2 separate regions of the Homo sapiens genome follow, and region 1 is linked to region 2. The links are contacts of gene promoters, found by promoter capture Hi-C in blood cells and fetal thymus (Javierre and others, 2016). All regions are on one chromosome and are shown on one strand. The core of a region is centred on a gene start or on the middle of the fragment in contact, and the rest is flanking DNA. Distances in the headings are between cores, read along the strand shown. Region 1 holds the start of LOC124900404 (a long non-coding RNA gene). Region 2 holds the start of DPYD-AS2 (DPYD antisense RNA 2).

Region 1 (5,203 bases), core at 1,888-4,387, 260 kb after region 2:
TGATACATGGAAAGAAGACATATTGCAAACAATGGGATGACTGCCCCCCACCCATTTATAGTTATAGGTTTAAAAAATATTGAAATAGGGTTTATTATCTAGATATGTGACTATCTTTTATTAAATATATCTCAAAATTCCATATTTCCTCTGATTTTTGTCATCCATTTGAACACTGAAAACTATGGTCACTTTGATTCTGCTGTCTTTTCTTTGGTAACATACATTACATAAATTCTGTAGTAAACAATTAGTGTTCAGGAAAATTCTAAAGATGAATGTGTCTCCTAAAACTTTGATAATCTCTTTAAGGAAAAAAAAACCTAACAGTTATGAATTAAATTAGTCTAAAAATATAGCTTGAAGACAAATCAAACAATTTACCTGATCTTTTGTTTCAATATACATTAATTAAGCACTCTTTCCAACCTACACAACATTCCAGGGTCATAGTCAGATATTCAAGTCTAATAGTTCAGCAGCCTTTGTTGTCATTCGTGTCAAGCTATTGCCCCCTGCAGGTTAGGCTGAAAGTGCAGGCAGAATTTGGCCAAGTCCTCAGGAAATTGATGGTACACAAGTTACTCAGTCTCTCCCAATATTTAACTAGAGTCAACTTTTTAAGTTTGCTTTCATTATGGTTTAAACTATTTATTTACAGATAGGTAGTACATTAAGAAAAATGCTCTTTAAAGATGTGACTTCAGTTTTTCTTCTGAGAATTTAGCTGCATTGAGTAAACCATCCACTTTGTTGTGATACAAGGAGCATTTTGACACATTTAGTATAGTTTTCTTCATCTTCCCTTATCCTTATTCCATAAGATCCAGCAAAATTAAAAAAAAAACATATGTAACAGGATTGGAATTATGAATTCTCATAATAAATATATAGCCCTGGGCAATTTGATATCAGTATGCTTTTGGTAGACTCAATGAAGTGTGTGCAAATCAAACCATTTCAGATTCTCCCTGCTCCTGATATGATGAGGTCAATTACACCATTTATCTTGATTATAAAATTAAACATTATTTCAACCTCCATATTCCTGCTATACTATCATCCTTTCCCACAATCAACTTTTCCAAATAGGGCACCTTGCCAAGATGAAATAAATTTATAATTGACAGAATAGAAATTAAATTACATCAACTCTTTCACAATATTAGAAAGTGGAGCAAGTTTATAGAAACGACTTCAGAAGGTTTATGGAAAGATTCTTTTATTCTTTGGAAGTCAACGATGTGGCTATTCACACTGAGTTGTAAAGAAACCAGCAATGGTATTTCCCTATTACATAAATATTCATCTCATTGAGCAGTGGGATATCATTATGTGAAATATAATCAATTCTAACACCAAATTAGCAATCAATAAGAATCTTACCTAGTCAAATTATAGTATTATTTCAACATTGTATGAAAGTAGCTAGAAACATGAACCGCACTTTGTTTTTTTAAAGCTATTATGAAATGCTCAATAAAGACTTAAAGTTTACTGGCAAAACTTGGGTCTTTTTTGGAGGATTTTTTGTTACCCTAACTACTGATATGTTTTCTGGATCCTCCAGAATGGACATATGGGATAGGAACTGAGGATAACTGTGTCATATTTTAAACAATATTAAAAACACAACAAGCCAACACAAACTAAAAATAACCTGAATACTTATCTCTGTTTTATTACATTTTCAAAGCTTGTTAAATTTCAAGAGGACACTACATCTATACATTAAGAGCTTTGCATCTACAGTTCATTAACACTCCTGCTCCAAGTAAAGAGGGGATTTGGACTAGGTTGTGAGACTATTAATTGCACAAATATGTTGTAGTCAGAGCAGTGACTGGTTGCCTGCAGCAGCCATTTCTAGTTGTCTTTGAGTATGCGTCTTTTTTTTAAAAAAGTCATCTCCTCTTCAAAGTCATATCTCACATATATATGATTATACTTGATTGTGTGTACTGAAGCACATTGCTATTGAGTCAGAAATTTTCAAGTATCTTGATTCAAATGACTGTCAAATACCTAAGAACAGAGTTGCTTTTAATTAGCATGCAGAAAAGAGAGATGATATTTGACCTGTGAGTCTTAATCAAGGGGAATATTTTTAAGTTCTCCCATAAACGATGTAGCAGATTGCTTGCAAGTGCCTTGAAAAACATAGTCCTACTTCTCCTCCTACTATCATTACTATTGTTCTAACAATTTCTAAAGGATCAGAACAGAGTTCTAGAAACCCTGTAATGCTGTTATTGCCCGGAATCCTGGGTTATTAAACATTCTTATCCGCAGAAGCAAAGGACCATCCAATCCTATTCATATGCATCCTATGACTCAACTCAGTTTCCACTTGGCGGGCTGTGTGTGTGTGTGTGTGTGTGTGTGTGTGTGTGTGAGAGAGAGAGAGAGAGAGAGAGACAGTGAGAGAGAGAGAGAGTGAGAGAGAGAGAGAGAGTTCATCCTGAAAGCGCTTATGTTTCCAGAGGTTTTCAAATGCAAATGGAGTGGGAGTGGTGGTGGCCGTGATGGAGCGTACTGTGTGGGTGTAGGGGGATTTGGGGAGAGGGTGTCGTGGGCAGTAAGTTTAAACAAATTCAAGGCCATTACTACCACTGCAGACCAAAATAACTTAGGTCTGAGAGACCCCCTTAGAAAGATACAATGCCTTCCTCATCTAAAGGGAGCTAATACCAGAGTGATCTCGGCGCTCGCGCAGTTTTGAGAGAGGGTCCCGAAAACCGCCGGAGGCCAGGTGTCGCGGACGGGCCCCGGGCTAAACTCTCGTCTGGCGAAGTGAAGAGCGCAAAGTCTCCAGGCCCAGCGCGCCTTCGCGGGGCAGGCCGGACACCCTAGCCCCGGGCCGGGCTCGCTCTTCTCTGAAGCCCTGGAGCGGGCAAGGGGCACCATTCTGGCCACAGGAACTCTAGTTTCAGCAGCCGCAGCCCGCCAGCGCTGGCTCGGACCGGGGCCTCCTCTGGGAGAGTAGGAGAGCGAAAAAATCAACCACCACCTTGGATTTCAGATCGAGGAAAGGAAGCCAAAGCAAAGGTGTGGTTACACAGGACATCCATAGACAAATCGTTGCCTCTCTAAGTGGGCCTGAGCTTTGCGGCTCCAGAAGCGCGAGGCGCGGTTGGTGCGGACGCGGGGGCGTGGGAGTCATCGCTCTCCCCGCAGCCCTGGCCGAGCTCTCTGCTGTCCTCCCGAGTTTGGGCCAGAGACCACGGCTCACTCCCTAACGCCCTCGCAAGGACGGCTGCCCGTCGGGCCAAGGGCGCCCCGGGCTGGAGGCCGGAGCAAGACGGCCCCGCGGGACTCGGGAGCCTTGGTAAGGCGGAGGCTCAGACCCCGTTCACGAAAACGCCTGGCTCCTCCAGGATTTGTCAGGTCTTAAGCAGCTCCGAGAAGGCTCCGCTGGCTCTTGGGGAACCCCGCTGTGCGGCTCACCCCCGTTTGTCTCTCTCAAGCTCTCGCCCTCCTCCCCTGGTCCTCCCTTCTCCAGATCCCCTGCCCTGCCCGAGGTCCGGGCCGCGCGGGCTGAGCCCAATACGCCCGGAGAAGAGCGCCGGAGCCCCCTGCTGGCCGGACGCGGCAGGCGCGGCGGCCCGCTCGGTCCCCTCCGCCCCGCGGGCTCTGCCCAGCCCGGACCCGCCTCCACCCTCCAGTGCCCTGGCGCTGGGGGCGTGCTAAAAGCAACAGAAAACAAAACAAAAACAAACAAAGCGCCAAACCCCACTCTCACCTCTTCTACTGGTCAAAGGTAAGTGTGAGTTCAGCCTCTCCCTCGTGCGTCTCTGACCCTTCTCTGGTTCTCTGGGCTGAGGTCTGAAGGAGCCAAAAGGGGCCCCCCTGAAAAAGAAATTATGGCCGCTTTTTAGAATATGTTTTCCAAGCATCAAAATCTCTCTCTCTCTCTCTCTCACACACACACATATATATACACACACACACGCACACACTTCAAACCCACACTTGCCAGTCTGGAAGAGCACTACCGATGTGCATGTTTCTGGAAGCATTTCCTTAGCTATTGGAGGAAATGTTTACTAATATTTCAGGTTGTAGACACCAATAATTATTCTGTGAATTGGGGAGAGGGAGGGTAAAGGAAGACAGATTCCTCTTAATTTAACCCTTCCTCCCGTATCTGAGTGTGAATCCTACTTTCAGTCCCAAGTCCTAGCATGGGCCGAAAAGTTTTCATTCTTATACTGAGGAGGAGAGAGAGAGAGTTATCCATTTCTGCGAGGTTTCCTGTGTTCCCACCCCTCACTATGGAACTGGGGAAGTGATTGTTTTGTTTATCTAGACAATTCATGACTTAGTTTTGTATGGCGTTTTGAAACTAGTTTAACCTTGAAATAGGCTATATGCTTTGAGTGGTACAGTGAAATAGGCTGTGTGCTTCTCTGTTCTCAGGAAAAGGTTGTTAGAAATCACAATGTTTCTTTCTATTCAGGCAGCCTTGAGTTAGAGATGGGCATAGTATGCTATGATTATTGTGACTTTTAGTAAAGTCTGTTGCCTCTGGATGTTTACTGTCTTTGGAGAATGATAGTTTTTTAAGAAAAAAATTCAAAAGCTTAGGCAAAAAATAAGTATAGATAGGTCTAGTAAGTGATCAGTACTATTAATATTTGCTTCTACTTTCTTCACACACTCTTCTGGGGAAAGAAGCCAAAGGACTTTTTTTTTACTGTCCCCGGAATTAGTTTGTTCTATCTAGGCAGGATCCACGAGACAATCTTTTAAAATGGCGTCTGTTTTCTTATTTGGTATTTTCAGGTGGATGGCAGAATCTTTGAACTGCTAATAAGTAAGGGGATGGGGCTGAAATGAAGAGGGATCTGGTATCTTTCCTCTGTGTTCATCAATCCAGGAGATCTGAACAGGTCGTAAAGAGTTGCAGCTCCTCCTGAGGATAAAATCGCAATTATAACAATAAAAACTAACATGTGTTGAGTGCTTATTCGTTGCCAGGTGCTGTGTTGCAACCTTTATCGTCATTTTCTCATTTAATTTCCACTGCAATCCTGTGGATTAGGTACTACGATAGTTTCTCATTTTACAGAGAAGGAAAGTAAGGATTGGGAAGATTTATTTACTTGACCAAGGTTATAACAGTTGGTAAGCAGAAGAGCAAGGATCTGAAAGCAGGCAGTAAAAGAGATATCTTGAGAACTCAGGTTTATTGTATTGGATT
Region 2 (5,300 bases), core at 1,168-3,667:
GATCATAGATGTTTACAGTTAACATATATTACTTCCGTTTTGTTTTTAAATCTCTATTTTAAAAAGCTTGTTTGACCTGGATTCCATTCACCTAAGGGTACATATTATCAACATGACTTACTACCATTGATATCAATCTTGATTGCCTGGCTAGTTAGTATTTTTCAGGCTTCTCTTCTGTAAAGTTACTCTTTTCCAACTCTTTACATATTATACTTTTCGGAAAAAAGTCACCACGCTTATTTCACACTTAAAAAGTGGGAAGCCATGCTTCACTTATTTCAGGGCAGGGTACATAGATTTTTAGTACACATATCTTTCACATCTTTCACAAGTCAGATTTATCCCTAGTACTGTATAATTTTTATGCTATCTTAAATGGTATTGCTTTAAGTTTTAATTTTTAATTGTTTGTTGTTAGTGATTAGAATATATTTGATTTTTGTATATCAATCTTGCAATATACCTAATCTTGTTTGTTCTAGTATCTTTTTGTAGATCACATTAGATTTTCTTTGTAGAGAACAAATAAGAGTAGGAAATAAAAATAATTTTACTTATTTCCAAAATAATAATAATGTGAGAAAGCAGTCTTAACTAATGGGATGAGCACAGAGTCCAGTTAAAGTCATACTTCTTTATGTAAAGTTACCAGTGTTGGGTAACTTCAAAATGGGTGGCAGAAAAATTTACATGAGAAAATAATTATTTTTAATTTCCTACCCTCTCTAAAAAGACATTTAGCAATGGGAGGCAGTTTACTACATATTCACCATATTTAATTCATTCATTCAACAAATATGCCTAGCTACAAATTTCATCAAATTATTTTATTCTATCATGTATCAATTTTCTAACTGCTAAAAGTGTATAATTTATAGTGTTAGAATGATAAATAAATACATAATTAACTACTCAACATTTAGTAACTGATACTAACTGTTAGCTATATGCTGATCTTGCTAACAGAATACATAAAATACGTTTTAAAAGCAAAATAACATAGAATGGAGACTAAAGATCATAATGCACATTGACGCAATTAAAAACAAACATTCCTACATAAACTCATTTCTATAATTTTACCTTTGTCTTAGCAACTTCACTTTTTGACATAGTGAACAACTCATATTTCACATGTACTCACCATTGTAGCTTTTTAAAAAATAATGGACATACTATACACACTCCTATATTATTTTATATTTCAATGCTGAAATTTTAATTAACATATACATATACTCAATAAAAACAATAAAAAATATGACTCATTCTCTGGAAAATTTCATTATTAAAATTACTGTTATTTTATAATGATAACATCTCATTTTGTTGTGCCCTAGGTATAATGAAACACTCTTTTTATTATAATAAAATGCAATAAAAAGTGTTCTTCCCTGTGTTACTGCTGTTATTTTGAATTATCCTTATAAATTTTCTGATAATGAGGGTAGGCTATCATCAAAAGATGCCTCCATTAAAATATAACAATGATGGTAATAGCTTAAAACTTGTATTGTACAGCTGAAAATTCATTTGTACACATATCTCTTTTCATCCACATACCAATTCTGTTAGGTGAATATACTTAACCCCATTTTACAGATGTATCCCCATTTATATGACAATGATCATAATAGCTTAAAACTTTTATTGTACAGTTTAAAATTCACTTTCACACATATCTCTTTTAATCCACATACCAATTCTGTTAGGTAGGCATTATTATTATCCCAATTTTATAGATGTAAGTACTAAAAAGCTAAGTTGTTTTCCTTGTCCTAAGCAACACAGCTAATTAGGGAAGTTAATTTTTCTCCACTGCTTTTAATCACATTAAACTGATCCTTCTATTCAACACATGAAGTTAACATTCTATGAAAATAAAACTGGAATCTCTGAGTCTACATTGATCACAAATTGAATGTATCCTCTCAATACACTGTTTTAGTCCTTTATATCTTTGATAGAAGTGAACATCCTAATTATGCCCATGAGTTACATATATGAGATGCCTTCACCCCACTTCAATAAAACTCTTTCTTAATGCCAATATAAAAAATACTCTACATTAATTGGTAATTGTGAAAAGAGACTCAGGGAGAGAGTCTGAATCAACAAAAGAGGAAAATATAGGAAGGAAAGGGAAAGACAAAGAAGGAGGGTGAGACAGAGAAGAGAGAACAAACATCCAGGAGTAGTGATGTGAATTATTTGCTTAGTTACCACAAAAGTAATAATTACACTAACTCTGTGGGAACAATGGTAATTTCACAGTAGCTCACGTTACTGTTATCACCTTATATCCTGATAACTGTGAAATTAATTTGTGGCACTACTGTATGTGTCGGCCATAAGCTGTTCCCTTGGTAACAGTATTATGCTACCATAGAGAAGGAATGTTTGGCAGTAAAATGGGCAGCAGCAAGCTGATTACACAGGGAAAAGCTTCTATCTAAATACACATAGCATAACAATCACCCCTGGAAAAACTACATGGCTTACCAAAAGAGGTCTCTCTGTTCACTGTCCATTATCTGTTGACTGAACTAGTTCAAATGAATAACAAGTAATGATCAAATTGCCAGTTTATATTTTACAACAGAGTCTTATCTTTAAAAAAATGCAAGGAGGAAATACAAAAATGTAATACATTTATCTTGCTTTCTTTTCTATTTCCTCCCCTGAAATTATTACTATGCTATTGGAAGCCATACAAACACATATATACACAAATATACATATGCTTCAATGAAAAGCAGGCATGCAGCTGACAGCTCGGCAACCCTGAGGTATAAACAAAGATACCAGACATATTTTTTGAAATAATTTTGCTCAAGGAAATTCATTTCAGTAGGAAGATCAGTTACTCTGCTGTCTCCTACCTACAAAGTTACAGAAGGAAAAGTTCAACATTTGGCCAAAAGGATAGTAGCTTACATTTCTTTTTTTTCCTTTTTTCAGCACAGAATTTTGAAGAGAGAATACACTAAAAGGGAAGAACATAACTACATGACATCATAAGAAGTCCTGAATTAGAAGCGTATATTTGAAAGGTCATGCATCCTGAGCTGCCAACAGCTTAACAACCAGAGGCAGAGGCCAGCTTTGCCAGCTCACTGCTTCTACTCATCTTTCATGATAGTAGCCAGGCTGAATATAGTTCCAGGATGATAATGAATTGGCTGGGCATACTGTTTATATTAGTATGTATGTTCCTGTACTAAACCAAGCATCATGAGGCCAGCACTATTTTGCCATTTTTCAGAAAAAAAATATGAACCCTTCAAAACATAGTAAGCCTTTTTTAAAGTATATATTTGATTTTGAAATAATCAAAATATATGTAGGGATATGACTGCATCCTAAGATTTATGATAAGTTCTGATGAGTAATATTTTCTTTCTACATGCAAGGCAAAGTTAATAGTAACTAGAAAGTCTTTATTTGGCATATCATAGATTTCTGTCAACCAAAACAACTAACTCTGGGGAACATAACGTTCTGACAACTTCAGAAGAGTTAAGTCACAGACAAAAGTTTATTGGATCTTAGTTGGCTCCTACCCACCAATTCTTTCTTTTCCAAGTGGAACATAATAGATTTTCAATATTTGTTAAATAATTGAAAAAATATCCTCAAAATTCTTTTTTGGCCATCTTCCCAACAAGAATATGGTCCTAACCTATATGTAGAGTCCTTTGCTGTGTCATCTATTTCTTCAGAATTATTCTCCTAATTCATATGTCTGGATAGTCTCTCTGAATTGTTATAGAAAATTAAAAATGTGAACTATGAAATTAATTTTTAAACTTTTATAACCATCTAGTCATACACAGAATAACCACAAATATAAACATGGTTTCAAAGAATTCCCTGTGACAATCAAGCAAATAGTGAAATAGTTTCTGCTATTATGAATTTATCACTTACTCAGTGTATGACCATGGGCAAATATCTTCACCTCAATCCTGTGAGGCAGGTACTATTATTCTACCCATTTTAAGTATAGATTTGCAATATTTGTTAAATATTCAATATTTGTTATTATAAAATGAGTATACTAATAGTACCTACCTCACAGTATTGAGGTGAAGATATTTGTCCATGTACGTACAATATGGGCATAATAATAGTACCTACCTCACAGGATTGTTATTAAGAATAAATAAGATAATCCATACAAAGTATTTAACACATTATTGAAAAATTAAATGATCAAAATAAAGCTTGTTGTTATTGTTATCTTTTAATAAATGCATCTAAAGTATTTTTAAATGTATTCACTTCAGTTATTTAAAGTTTCATCTGCTGTATCACAGAGCACATATATGTTCAGAAACATTTGTTAAGTATCTATGTACCAGATAATAAAGGTGGTATTGAAAAAAGAATAGGCATTGTAACAGGCAGACAGGAGTATAAAGTCCAGCCTTGCCACTTATGAGACTCCCATCTTCAAATTATGGAACCTTTCTGAATCTCCATTTTATACCTATAAAAAGGGGTAGACATTACGTCTCTACTTGCTTCTTATCATTAAATTAAAATTCATATTCCTTTCTATGGCAAGGAAACGAGTCCTGTATAGTCTTGTAATTCATCTCCCTCCACCAAACTTCATCCACACTGACTTCTTTAGGCCAAGCTTGTTCCTATATCAAGGTGAGCCTGGAAGCCTGTACACTGTTCCACAGTGGTACACCTCCTCTAGCCCTATAGAATGCAAAATGGAAGCACAGAGACATTATACAATGGTTAGCCAGTCACATTACATCAAGTAAAAACAACAAGTTACCATGAAGTTTATTTATTGGAGTGGCTTCAGTATTTCTTGAGAAACACAAATGATGACCCTGATTTGTATGATCAATCAGCAAGTTTTCAAAAAGGTTACTGAGTATATGACAGTAATTTCTAGAGCCAAAGATATACCCGCATGAATAAGCTTTCATCCTGAAAAAAAAATCACCTTCTGAAACTCCATGCTAGTTATCTGAAATAATAAAGGTGAAGTACAAATTATGTGATCTATCATAACCTGAAATAAACATATGTTGCTACTCTGTGATTTGGTCTTTATCCCAGTCTGACCCATTTCTTGAGACTGTTACCTCAAGATGCTCTCCCATGGAGCTTTCACTGAGAATACTTTAATCCATTTTCTTAAAAATCCATAACAAAATTACTAAGATCTCAATGTCTTATCAAAACTTTTTTTTGTCTCAAAAATGATACATGAAAAAGATAATCTTCAATAAATGCAGGTAAAGTATTTTATACCTGCAGCATTGAATTGT

The links. The method cuts DNA at HindIII sites, captures the fragments that hold promoters and counts their contacts. A CHiCAGO score of 5 or more calls a contact.
Region 1: a contact is called between a fragment that was not itself captured here and the fragment with the promoter of DPYD-AS2 in region 2, in 1 of 17 cell types (M1 macrophages). The highest score is 5.1, in M1 macrophages.

Annotation. Positions count from the first base shown.
Region 1 is chr1:98,050,744-98,055,946 of GRCh38, forward strand. It overlaps LOC124900404 (a long non-coding RNA gene), which reads left to right and starts at 3,636. Exons shown (of 2, transcript XR_007066241.1): 1 at 3,636-3,760. RefSeq lists a silencer at 3,478-3,737. The HindIII fragment of the contact is 2,886 bases long and covers 1,695-4,580 here.
Region 2 is chr1:97,794,504-97,799,803 of GRCh38, forward strand. DPYD-AS2 (DPYD antisense RNA 2) reads left to right here and starts at 2,418. Exons shown (of 3, transcript NR_046591.1): 1 at 2,418-2,569; 2 at 2,712-2,792; 3 at 2,965-3,548. The region is part of intron 3 of DPYD (dihydropyrimidine dehydrogenase); the gene reads right to left. The HindIII fragment of the contact is 2,382 bases long and covers 65-2,446 here.